Linked DNA regions of Homo sapiens: all the other regions are linked to region 1. Evidence: promoter capture Hi-C in human tissues and cell types (Jung and others, 2019). All regions are on one chromosome and are shown on one strand. Each heading gives the region's core, a stretch centred on a gene start or on the middle of the fragment in contact. The rest is flanking DNA. Distances are from core to core; before and after follow the strand shown. Region 1 holds the start of DOCK6 (dedicator of cytokinesis 6). Region 2 holds the start of YIPF2 (Yip1 domain family member 2). Region 3 overlaps LOC124904638 (a long non-coding RNA gene).

What was found. The method cuts DNA at HindIII sites, captures the fragments that hold promoters and counts their contacts. A contact is called where the count stands out against the background at its distance.
Region 2: the fragment with the promoter of YIPF2 here is called in contact with the fragment with the promoter of DOCK6 in region 1 in 2 of the 25 tissues and cell types used here (heart left ventricle and lymphoblastoid cells).
Region 3: a fragment that was not itself captured here is called in contact with the fragment with the promoter of DOCK6 in region 1 in 6 of the 25 tissues and cell types used here (aorta, dorsolateral prefrontal cortex, lymphoblastoid cells and 3 more).

The regions. Positions count from the first base shown.
Region 1 is chr19:11,260,947-11,264,145 of GRCh38, forward strand. It overlaps DOCK6 (dedicator of cytokinesis 6), which reads right to left and starts at 1,578. Exons shown (of 48, transcript NM_020812.4): 1 at 1,451-1,578. The coding sequence starts at 1,494. RefSeq lists silencers at 1,153-1,292, 1,373-1,432, 1,503-1,662. The HindIII fragment of the contact is 27,433 bases long and covers 1-3,199 here.
Region 2 is chr19:10,927,044-10,930,242 of GRCh38, forward strand. It overlaps YIPF2 (Yip1 domain family member 2), which reads right to left and starts at 1,596. Exons shown (of 10, transcript NM_001321439.2): 1 at 1,468-1,596; 2 at 1,337-1,397; 3 at 756-916; 4 at 587-673. The coding sequence starts at 1,367. TIMM29 (translocase of inner mitochondrial membrane 29) reads left to right here and starts at 1,768. Exons shown (of 2, transcript NM_138358.4): 1 at 1,768-1,873; 2 at 1,971-3,199. The coding sequence starts at 1,780. The coding sequence ends at 2,659. RefSeq lists enhancers at 227-929, 930-1,630 and silencers at 1,844-2,123, 2,164-2,213. The HindIII fragment of the contact is 42,517 bases long and covers 1-3,199 here.
Region 3 is chr19:11,582,963-11,586,161 of GRCh38, forward strand. It overlaps LOC124904638 (a long non-coding RNA gene), which reads left to right. Exons shown (of 2, transcript XR_007067140.1): 2 at 455-702. It also overlaps the pseudogene GAPDHP76. Among named protein-coding and RNA genes, the nearest start is that of ACP5, 6.9 kb to the left of the region's middle. RefSeq lists enhancers at 923-1,062, 1,073-1,132. The HindIII fragment of the contact is 7,524 bases long and covers 1-3,199 here.

The sequences.
Region 1 (3,199 bases), core at 328-2,827:
AATAATGTTTGCAGCCTCAAAGACGCCAAAGGTCTAAGACATTTTGAAAGCCAATTTACAGACAAAGATAATGATAGAACATAAAAATTGCCCAGCCATTACGCCCCAGCCACCAAGTCTCATCCCTCCTCTGCTGAGAACTCCCCATGGCTCCCACCTCACCTGGGGTCCAAAGTCAAAGTCCCTTGCACAGCCCACACGACCCTGTACATTCTACTCTTACTGTCCCCCTCCAGCTCTCTGTTCCTGCCTCAGGGCCTTTGCACAAACCCTTCCCACTCTTTCCCCCCACAAACTGGCCTCGATCGATCCCTCTCTCATCTCCTTGAGGTTTTTGCTCAAAGGCACCTGCTCATCCAGGCCTTCCTGACCCACCTCCCGCATCTCAAGCAGCCCCCACCCTCCCATCCCCCTTCCCTGTCTTCTTGTCCCTACAGCACTTGTCACTGACAGGTAATCTACTCGATCAGGCTTCTGGTCTCTCTCCGCCACTATATCCCAAGAGGGGGATCTTTTGTCTCCATAAGACCAGGGCCCAACCCACAGGGCAGCTCTTTCACCTGGGGGCAGTCAGGACAGGTCCCCCGGGGAGAGGATACCTGAGCTTCTGAACGCACCCTTGTCGCAAAGACCCCCCGCCAACTGGGGGCGAGGCTTTTCAGCCCCAGAGAGTCTGATATACCCCTCCCAGGCTGTGACTCTCACAATCCCCAGTGGCCACGGAAATGGATCCCCCAGCGCCTGGGGCCTGTCCCCTCCCCCGTCTGCCCACCAGCTGGTTCTGTCCCCAGCCCCCACTCCCTCCATTCAATCACCCATCCATCCCCAGCGCGGTCCAGCCCGTGACGGGAGAGCCTGAAGCAGAAGGTGGGGGGGCGTCCACAGCTGTCCCCCTTCCCCCCCCCCGACAGCTGGGCACTGGACCCTGGAGGGGGAAGGGCACGGGAAACTCCTCGAGGGGTTTCAAACGCCACCAAGGAGCCCATCTCTGTCCCCAAATCTCAGAGCCTGGAGCCTCCCTGCCCCAAACCAGGCACTGAGGAAGGAACAGAAAGTCCGGCCCACCCCGATCTCCGAGAGCGCGGGGACAGTGAGGGGCCGAGAGGCGGACGGGGAGCGCAGGGAGTTCAGGGGGCGCCCGTCATCCGCATCCCCACGCCACCTCCTCCGGGAAGCCCTCCGGACACACCCCCGCGCGTCACGGAGGCAGAACGGCAGCCGCCATCGCGCTCCCAGCCCCGACGCGACTCCCATCTGGGACCCCCGCCGGGACCCCCGCGGCCCTCCCCGCCTTCTCCCGCTCCCAGCCCCGGCCGGAGGAAGCTGGCGGGACCCGGGCCGAGGCGGAAAGGGGTTGAATTGGGGGCGCCCGGGCGGGGAGGGTCGCACCGCCCCGGGGCGGAGCCGGGCCACGTGGGGGAGGTGGGAGGGGGCCCCGCGGCCACACTACCTGTTGATCTTGTGCGCGAAGGCGCGGCGCTCGGAGGCAGCCATGGTCCTCGCGTCCCGCCGCCGCCGCCCCGGGCCCCGGCCCCGCCGCCGCCGCCGCCTCCCGGTTCTGGGCAGCCGGGGCGGGGCGGGGCCGGCGCGGGGGCGGGGCCCTTCCGGGTGGCCCGGGCCGCTCCGTGCTGCCCCTGCAGGCCGGAGGGGTCGCCTGGAGTCCTGGGGGCTGGGGAAACTGAGGCTGGGGACGGAGAGGAGGCCCCGGGATCCAGGCTGGGCGGGCCCCAGACTCCCGGGCTGGGGGGACGCTCTTTCTACCCTAGGAGAAGGGCTGGGGAAACTGAGGCTGAGGAGGGAAGTTAGGGAGAGGAGGCGCTGGGACCCAGACTGGGGGTGCCCCAGACTCCCGAGCTGGCGGGGGCGCTCTTTCCACCCTGGGAGCTGGGCTGGAGAAACTGAGCCTGAGGAGGGAGGGAGGGAAGGGAGGCGCTGAGACCCGGGCTAGGTGGACCCCAGGCTCCCGGGGTTTAGTGGGGTGGTCTTACCACCCCAGGAGCAGGGCTGGGGAAACTGAAGCTCAGGAGGGAGGGAGGGAGGGGAGGCGCTGGGACCCAGGCTGGGTAGGCCCCAGATTTCCGGGGTTTGGGGGGCGCTCTTTCTGCCCTCTGACTCCTGGCTGGAAAACAATAACGATGTTCATGTATCTAATAATCATACCTGTAAGTATAATCGTGGCCGTGCATGGTGGCTCATGCCTGTAATCCCAGCACTGTGGGGGGCCAAGGCAGGAGGATTGTTTGAGCCCAGGAGTTGGAGACCAGCCTGGGCAACATAATGAGACCCCGTGTCCACAAAAAATGCAAAAATTAACCAGGCATGGTGGTGTGTGCCTGTAATCTCAGCTACTTGGGAGTCTGAGGGAGGAGGATCGCTTGAGCCTGGGAGGTCAAGGCTGCAGTGAGCTGTGATTGTGCCATTTCAATCCAGCCTGGGTGACAGAGCGAGACCCTGTCTCAAAAAGTCTAATTGCTAAGATGTCATTGAGCCTGGCCCTGCAATTCACACATGCAGAAGAAATTATTGTTTTCCTCCTTTTACAGATGAGTAAACTGAGGCACAGAGGTGTTCGGGTGCTTGCTCAGTGTGACTCACAGGGGTCTCCAGCGCCTGCATTGTCCGTGCTCCCAGTCTACAGCATGGGAGTCAGAGGAGCCTGGCTAGGCACTGGAGTGCTCGGAGATGTGCCCCAGGTCCAGGTGGTGGGACCTGAGTGAGCCAGTTTGGGAGTCTAGACTTTCGGGGCCGCCTCTACCAAGAGGAAGAGGTGGGGATGTCTTGGTTAATCTATGGTCTCAAATCTCTCCCCACTGGCCTCTCTCCCAGCACTGCTGCAGCATTTTTAGAGAATTCTCCAGCCGACACTCCCCTCTGGAGGAGCTCACCCCTTTCTCACCTGCATGCCTCTGCACCGGCAGGTCCTTCCTCCTGGACAGCCCTTCTTTCCCTGGTCAGCAAATGCCCCAGGGAGAATTTGAGGTTGAATCAGACAAGGCCGTGGCTCTGCCTCAGGGCCTTTGCACGTGCTGTTCTCATTCCCATCTATGGGTTGCTGGCATTTTATCCTCTATTATTTATTTATTTATTTATTTATTTATTTATTTATTTATTTATTTATTTTGAGGTGGCATTTCGCTCTTGTTGCCCAGACTGGAGTGCAATGGCACAATCTCGGCTCACCGCAACCTCTGCCTCCCAG
Region 2 (3,199 bases), core at 346-2,845, 330 kb before region 1:
GTATTTTTAGTAGAGACGGGGTTTCACCATGTTTGGCCAGGCTGGTCTCAAACTCCTGACCTCAGGTGATCCACCCACCCAGGCCTCTCAAAGTGCTGGGATTACAGGCATGAGCCACCCCGCACCCGGCAGTTTTTGTATTTTTGGTAGAGACGGGGTTTCCCCATGTTAGCCAGGCTGGTCTTGAACTCCTCAGGTTATCTGCCCACCTCGGCCCCCTTAAGTGCTGGGATTACAGGCAGGAGCCACTGCGCCCAGTCCATCTTTGGTCTTCTGCATATGCTGTTCCCTGTGCCTGGAACATATACTCCTGCTTCCCTACCCTATTCCCCAGGGAAGCCTTCTGTCTCCTTTAGGTCTCAGCCAATTCCTCACCTCCCCCAGGAGGCCTTTCTCTAACCCACCAGATTGTGTGTGTCCCCTGTGTTCCCATAGTCCCGATCCATAACCAGTCCCACCATAACCCTTTGAGAGCACCACAGTTCGTTCACCAGCACCCACCATCACCAGCACCCTGCCCAGGGGAAGAGTGGCTGAACCCTGAGCATAACTCTGAGCCCCATCCCACCTGCCTCCCCAGCCTGACCTGTGAGGTGTCCACGTCAAAGAAGCTCTGATAGTAGCTGAAGGTCCAGAATCCCGGCTGCTGCTGCTGCTGCTGCTCCTGCAGGAGCTGCACATTGCGGGCATTCAGTGCCTGCCCGGAGAGCCTGGGTCAGCTGGGGGCTGCAAGGAGGCAGGACACAGGGACTCACCGCGGCCTTGTCACTCTCCTCCTCCACCTCATCCTCGGCTCCATAGCTGCCACCTGAGCCCACGGCCACAGCCACGTGCCCTTGTGGGGTCAGCTGATCGCTTCTGCTGGTGGTGGCTGCATCTGGGGTGTCAGCCAGAAGATTAGTGGCCTCCTCGAATTCTGTGGAGGAGGTATATGGGACACACGCACGTTTGAGGGGTGGAAAGAACTCGACTGGGCCCAAGCTAAACCGATGCTCATCTGGGGGCGGAGGCTCTGCTGAGCCATTGATCTCCCCCAAGGTGGGGCCCAACTTCCTCAGTTTGGAGGCATCCGGAGGACATCTGTTCCCTTCCTCCTAAAGTGGAACTGCAACTTAGGGTTGACGCTGGGATGGGGTCAGGGTCTGGGGACGAGAGGCTCGGGTTTGAGGTCTGAGTTCAGGGCGGGGGCGGGGTTCGAGTCAGAGATGGGTCTCACTCCTGGGTCAGGGTTCACAGCCGCCTAGGCTTCGGGGTAGAGAAATTGGAAGCCGTATCGGGGGGAGGTTCTGGCCCGGGGCGGGAGTGGGAGATCCGGCCACGTCGGGGCCGCACTCACCATGGAAGGTCAGCTCGTCGGCCGATGCCATGGTCGTTCAGGGGCGTCTCCGCATCCCTCGCTGAGGACAGAGACCGGTCAGGCACACTTCCCCCCCGCCCCCGAGCCGGTCCCTCGGCCCCCAGCCCTACCTGGCGACCAACTGCACCCACGGAGGCTTGAACTCGTCGTCCCGTCCCCACAGGTGCGCTCCGCCCCCCCTCACCTGAGGCCACCTGGGCCGGCGTGGCTGGGGCTCTCTGCGCCTGCGCGTCTCGCCTACCCGTCAGACTCCAACCGACTCAGACCTGACAGCAACATCCGGCGCCTGTCCTCTTTCTATCCTCTCCCGTTGGGAAGCCACTTCCGGTAAAGTTGGCGCTTGCGCAGAAGAGACTCCCGGGCTCTTAACGTCGGGTATCAGGAGTTTCTTCCCGGAGCAAGGACCCCCAAGACGGAAGAGGATGGCCGCGGCGGCTCTGAGGAGATTTTGGTCCCGGCGCCGCGCAGAGGCGGGCGACGCGGTAGTGGCGAAGCCGGGAGTGTGGGCGCGGCTGGGTGAGTAGCGGCGGAAGGCGGCAGGGTGGGTGGCCGCCGCGACAGGGTGGGTGGCCGCCGCGGCCGGATCACTCTTACCGCGCTCCTCTCCCCTCAGGGTCCTGGGCCCGCGCGCTGCTCCGGGACTACGCCGAGGCCTGCAGGGACGCTTCGGCGGAGGCTAGGGCCCGGCCGGGGCGCGCCGCTGTGTATGTGGGTCTGCTGGGCGGCGCGGCGGCCTGCTTCACGCTGGCGCCCAGCGAGGGTGCCTTCGAGGAGGCGCTGCTGGAGGCGTCGGGGACCCTCCTGCTGCTGGCGCCGGCCACCCGCAACCGCGAGTCCGAAGCCTTCGTGCAGAGGCTGCTCTGGCTGCGGGGCCGTGGCCGCCTGCGCTACGTCAACCTGGGGCTCTGCTCGCTGGTGTACGAGGCGCCCTTCGACGCCCAGGCCAGCCTCTACCAGGCGCGTTGCCGCTACCTGCAGCCCCGCTGGACCGACTTCCCCGGCCGGGTCCTGGACGTGGGCTTCGTGGGTCGCTGGTGGGTGCTGGGGGCCTGGATGCGCGACTGCGACATCAACGACGACGAATTCCTGCACCTGCCGGCGCATTTGCGGGTGGTCGGGCCCCAGCAGCTGCATTCCGAGACCAACGAGCGGCTCTTCGATGAGAAGTACAAGCCTGTCGTGCTCACCGACGATCAGGTGGACCAGGCGCTGTGGGAGGAGCAGGTCTTGCAGAAGGAGAAGAAGGACAGGCTCGCCCTGAGCCAGGCCCACTCGCTGGTGCAGGCGGAGGCCCCGAGATGAAACCCTGAGGCCCCCGAGTCCTGGCAAACTGCTTGCCTGGGGTGGTGCAGTTCTGAGTGTGCCTCACCTGCAGAACAGCTGAGACAGATGATGTGCAAAGTGTTTTCTCACTGGATTTGCACAAGTTTGGGGAGCCTTTCTGCCCCCCGTCTTTGTTCTTTATTAGCTGAAGCTAATTCAGAGCCACCTGGGTCCGGGAGTTGGGGACAGCAGAACGACTTGACACATGTTCATCACTGGCAGAGCTGGTCATGAGCCTTTTATATAAGCCTTTTTCATCGGGCCTCAGAGGCCCTCCTTAAGGAGGTACCACATTGGTCAGCTGACTTGCAAACTCTTCTAAGGCCACTTAGATTTTCTTTTTCAAGTTTGGGTTGTGGCCTGGCATGGTGATGTCTGTAATCCCAGCAGTTTGCAAACTGAGGCAAGAGAATCGCTTGAGGCCAGGAGTTTGAGGCCAGCTAGAGTGACATAGCAAGACTCCGATGCTACAAAAAAGAATAATAATAGTAATTAACTAAATAAAATTTGAGCTGAAAT
Region 3 (3,199 bases), core at 694-3,193, 320 kb after region 1:
GGGCGCAGTGGCTCACGCCTGTAATCCCATCACTTTGGGAGGCCGAGGCGGGCGGATCACGAGGTCAGGAGATCGAGAGCAACATGGCTAACACGGTGAAACCCCGTCTCTACTAAAAATACAAAAAAATTAGCTGGGCGTGGTGGTGGGCGCCTGTAGTCCCAGCTACTCGGGAGGCTGAGGCAGGAGAATGGCATGAACCTGGGAGGTGGAGCTTGCAGTGAGCCAAGATCGCGCCACTGCACTCCATCCGGCTTGGGTGACAGAGCGAGACTCCATCTCAAAAAAAAAATTAATAATAATAATTATTATTATAGTAGTAAAAGAGTATAGAATAAAATGCATCACACTTATAAAATGTAAAATGTTAATTTCAATCCACTAAACTTATAAACGGACCCAAATATGCATCCAATGACCTCTTAAAGTGATATTTCTTTTTCTTTTTGTTGAGATGGAGTCTCACTCACTCTGTCACCCAAGCTGGAGCGCAGTGGTGTGATCTTCAGCTCGTCCCAACCTCCGTCTCCCAGGTTCAAGCGATTCTCCTGACCTCAAGTGATCCGTCTGCCTTGGCATCCCAAAGTGCTGGGATTACAGGCCTGAGGCCAGGCCCTGAATTAATTTTTTGATGTTTCACTTTGCCAGGTGTATAAGTAACATGTTAGTTGTGATTGTAACTAAATAAAGGCTTAAGGGAAACCGTGTTTCTAAATTTCTAAATTGACTACACATTTACAAAGGAACCCACAAAGATGGATTTTTGGGCCGGGCGCAGTGGCTCACGCCTGTAATCCCAGCACTTTGGGAGGCTGAGGCAGACAGATTGCCTGAGTTCAGGAGTTCAAGATCAGCCTAGGCAACAAGGTGAAACCCTTTCTCTACTAAAATACAAAAAAATTAGCTGGGCATGGCAGCGAGCACCTGTAATCCCAGCTACTTGGGAGGCTGAGGCCGGAGAATTGCTTGAACCAGGGAGGCAGAGGTTGCAGTGAGTCGAGATCACACCACCGCACTCCAGCCTGGGCAACACAGTGAGACTCGATCTTAAAAAAAAAAAAAAAAGATGGACTTTTTCGGGGCCCCAAGGCTTCAAAATTCAAAATGCTGTCATGAGTTAGTTTGATTTGAGGAACCAAAAATTGGCTTTTGTGGCTGGAGCAGAGTGAGCAAGGGGGAAGTGAATCCGGAAGGTTGAGTCTGCAAGGTCAAGGGCAAGGAACAGAGAAGGGTGTGGGTGGGGCAGGTTGCGTGTGCTCTTGGGGGCTGCAGGGAAGGGGGCTTTTATCTGGGTAAGGTGGGAGCCACAGAGGGTTCTGATCAGAGGGACAGATCTGACTTAGATTTTGCATGATGTCCCCCAGCTGTGGGCTGCGGGGCATGGGCTGCTGAATAGGTGGTTTAGGTGGGCAAAGATGGGTCATGGTGCCCCCTACCCTTTAAAAATTAAAAGACAGGGCCAGGAGCAGTGGCTCACGCCTGTAATCCCAGCACTTTGGGAGGCTGAGGTGGGCGGATCACCTGAGGTCAGGTGTTTGAGACCAGCCTGACCAACAAGGTGAAACCCCATCTCTACTAAAAATACAAAAAAAATTAGCTGGGCGTGGTGGCAGCCACCTGTAATCCCAGCTACTCGGGAGGCTGAGGCAGGAGAATCGCTTGAACCCGGGAAGCAGAGGTTGCAGTGAGCCAAGATCGTGCCACTGCACTCCAGCCTGGGCGACAAGAGCAAGACTGTCTCAAATAATAATAATAGGCCGGGTGTGGTGGCTCACACCTGTAATCCCAGCACTTTGGGAGGTTGAGGTGGGTGGATCACTGGAGCCCAGGAGTTTGAGACAAGCCTGGGTGACACAGTGAGACCCCATCTAAATTATTATTATTATTATTATTTGAGACAGAGTCTTGCTCCATCACCCAGGCTGGAGTGCAGTGGCGCGATCTTGGCTCACTGCAAGCTCCGCCTCCCGGGTTCACGCCATTCTCCTGCCTCAGCCTCCCAAGTAGCTGGGACTACAGGTGCCCGCCACCACGCCCAGCTAATTTTTTGTATTTTTTAGTAGAGACGGGGTTTCACCATGTTAGTAAGGATGGTCTGGATCTCCTGACCTTGTGATCCGCCTGCCTTGGCCTCCCAAGGTGCTGGGATTACAGGCGTGAGCCACCATGCCCAGCCTGAATTTTTTTTCTTAAAGATTAAAAAGGCAGAGCCTCTCTGCTCCTCCCATTTGACAGACAGCCACATCTTTTCATGCAGTGAAAAAGGCATGTCCCCGAGACACCGTGGTGAAAGTGAAGACAGGAGTAAATGGATTTGGCCATATTGGGTGCCTGGTCACCAGGGCACCAGAGCTGCTTTTAACTCTGGCAGAATGGATGTTGTCACCTCAATGACCCCTTCATTGACCTCAACTACATGGTCTACATGTTCCAATATGATTCTACCCACGGCAAGTTCCGCGGCACCATCAAAGCTGAGAAGTGGGCTGGGTGTGGTGGCTCATGCTTGTAATCTCAGCTACTTAGGAGGTTGAGGTGGGAGGATCACTTGAGACCAGGAGTTCAGGACCAGCCTAGGCAACATAGGGAGATCCTCTCTCTCTTAAAAAAAAAAAAAAAGAAAAGAAAAGACTGAGAAAGAGAAGGGAAGCTTGTCATCAATAGGAAATGGGAATCTCATCCCCATCTTCTAGAAGCCAGATCCCAGCAAAATCAAATTGGGTGACGATGCTGGCACTGGTTATGTCATGGAGTCCACCAGCAGCATCTTCACGACCATGGGGAAGGCTGGGGCTCGCTTAGGATGGGCAGCCAAAGGGATCACCATCTCTGCCCCCTCTGCCCATGCCCCCATGTTTGTGATGGACATGAACCATGAGAGATACAAAAACCTCATGATCGTCAGCAATGCCTCCTGCACCACCAACTGCTTACCCTCCGGCCAAGGTCATCCGTGACAACGTTTTTTTTTGGTTTGGTTTGGTTTTCTTTCTTTCTTTTTTCTTTTTTTGTTTTAAATAGGGATGGAGGCCAGGTGCAGTGACTCATGCCTGTAATCCCAACACTTTGGGAAGCTGCGGTTGGAGGATCACTTGAGCCTAGGAGTTCAAGACCAGCCTGGCCAACATAGCAAGACTCTGTCTCTACAAAAAGTTTAAAAAAATTATCCAGGCATGGTGGGGTGTATCTGTAGTCCCAG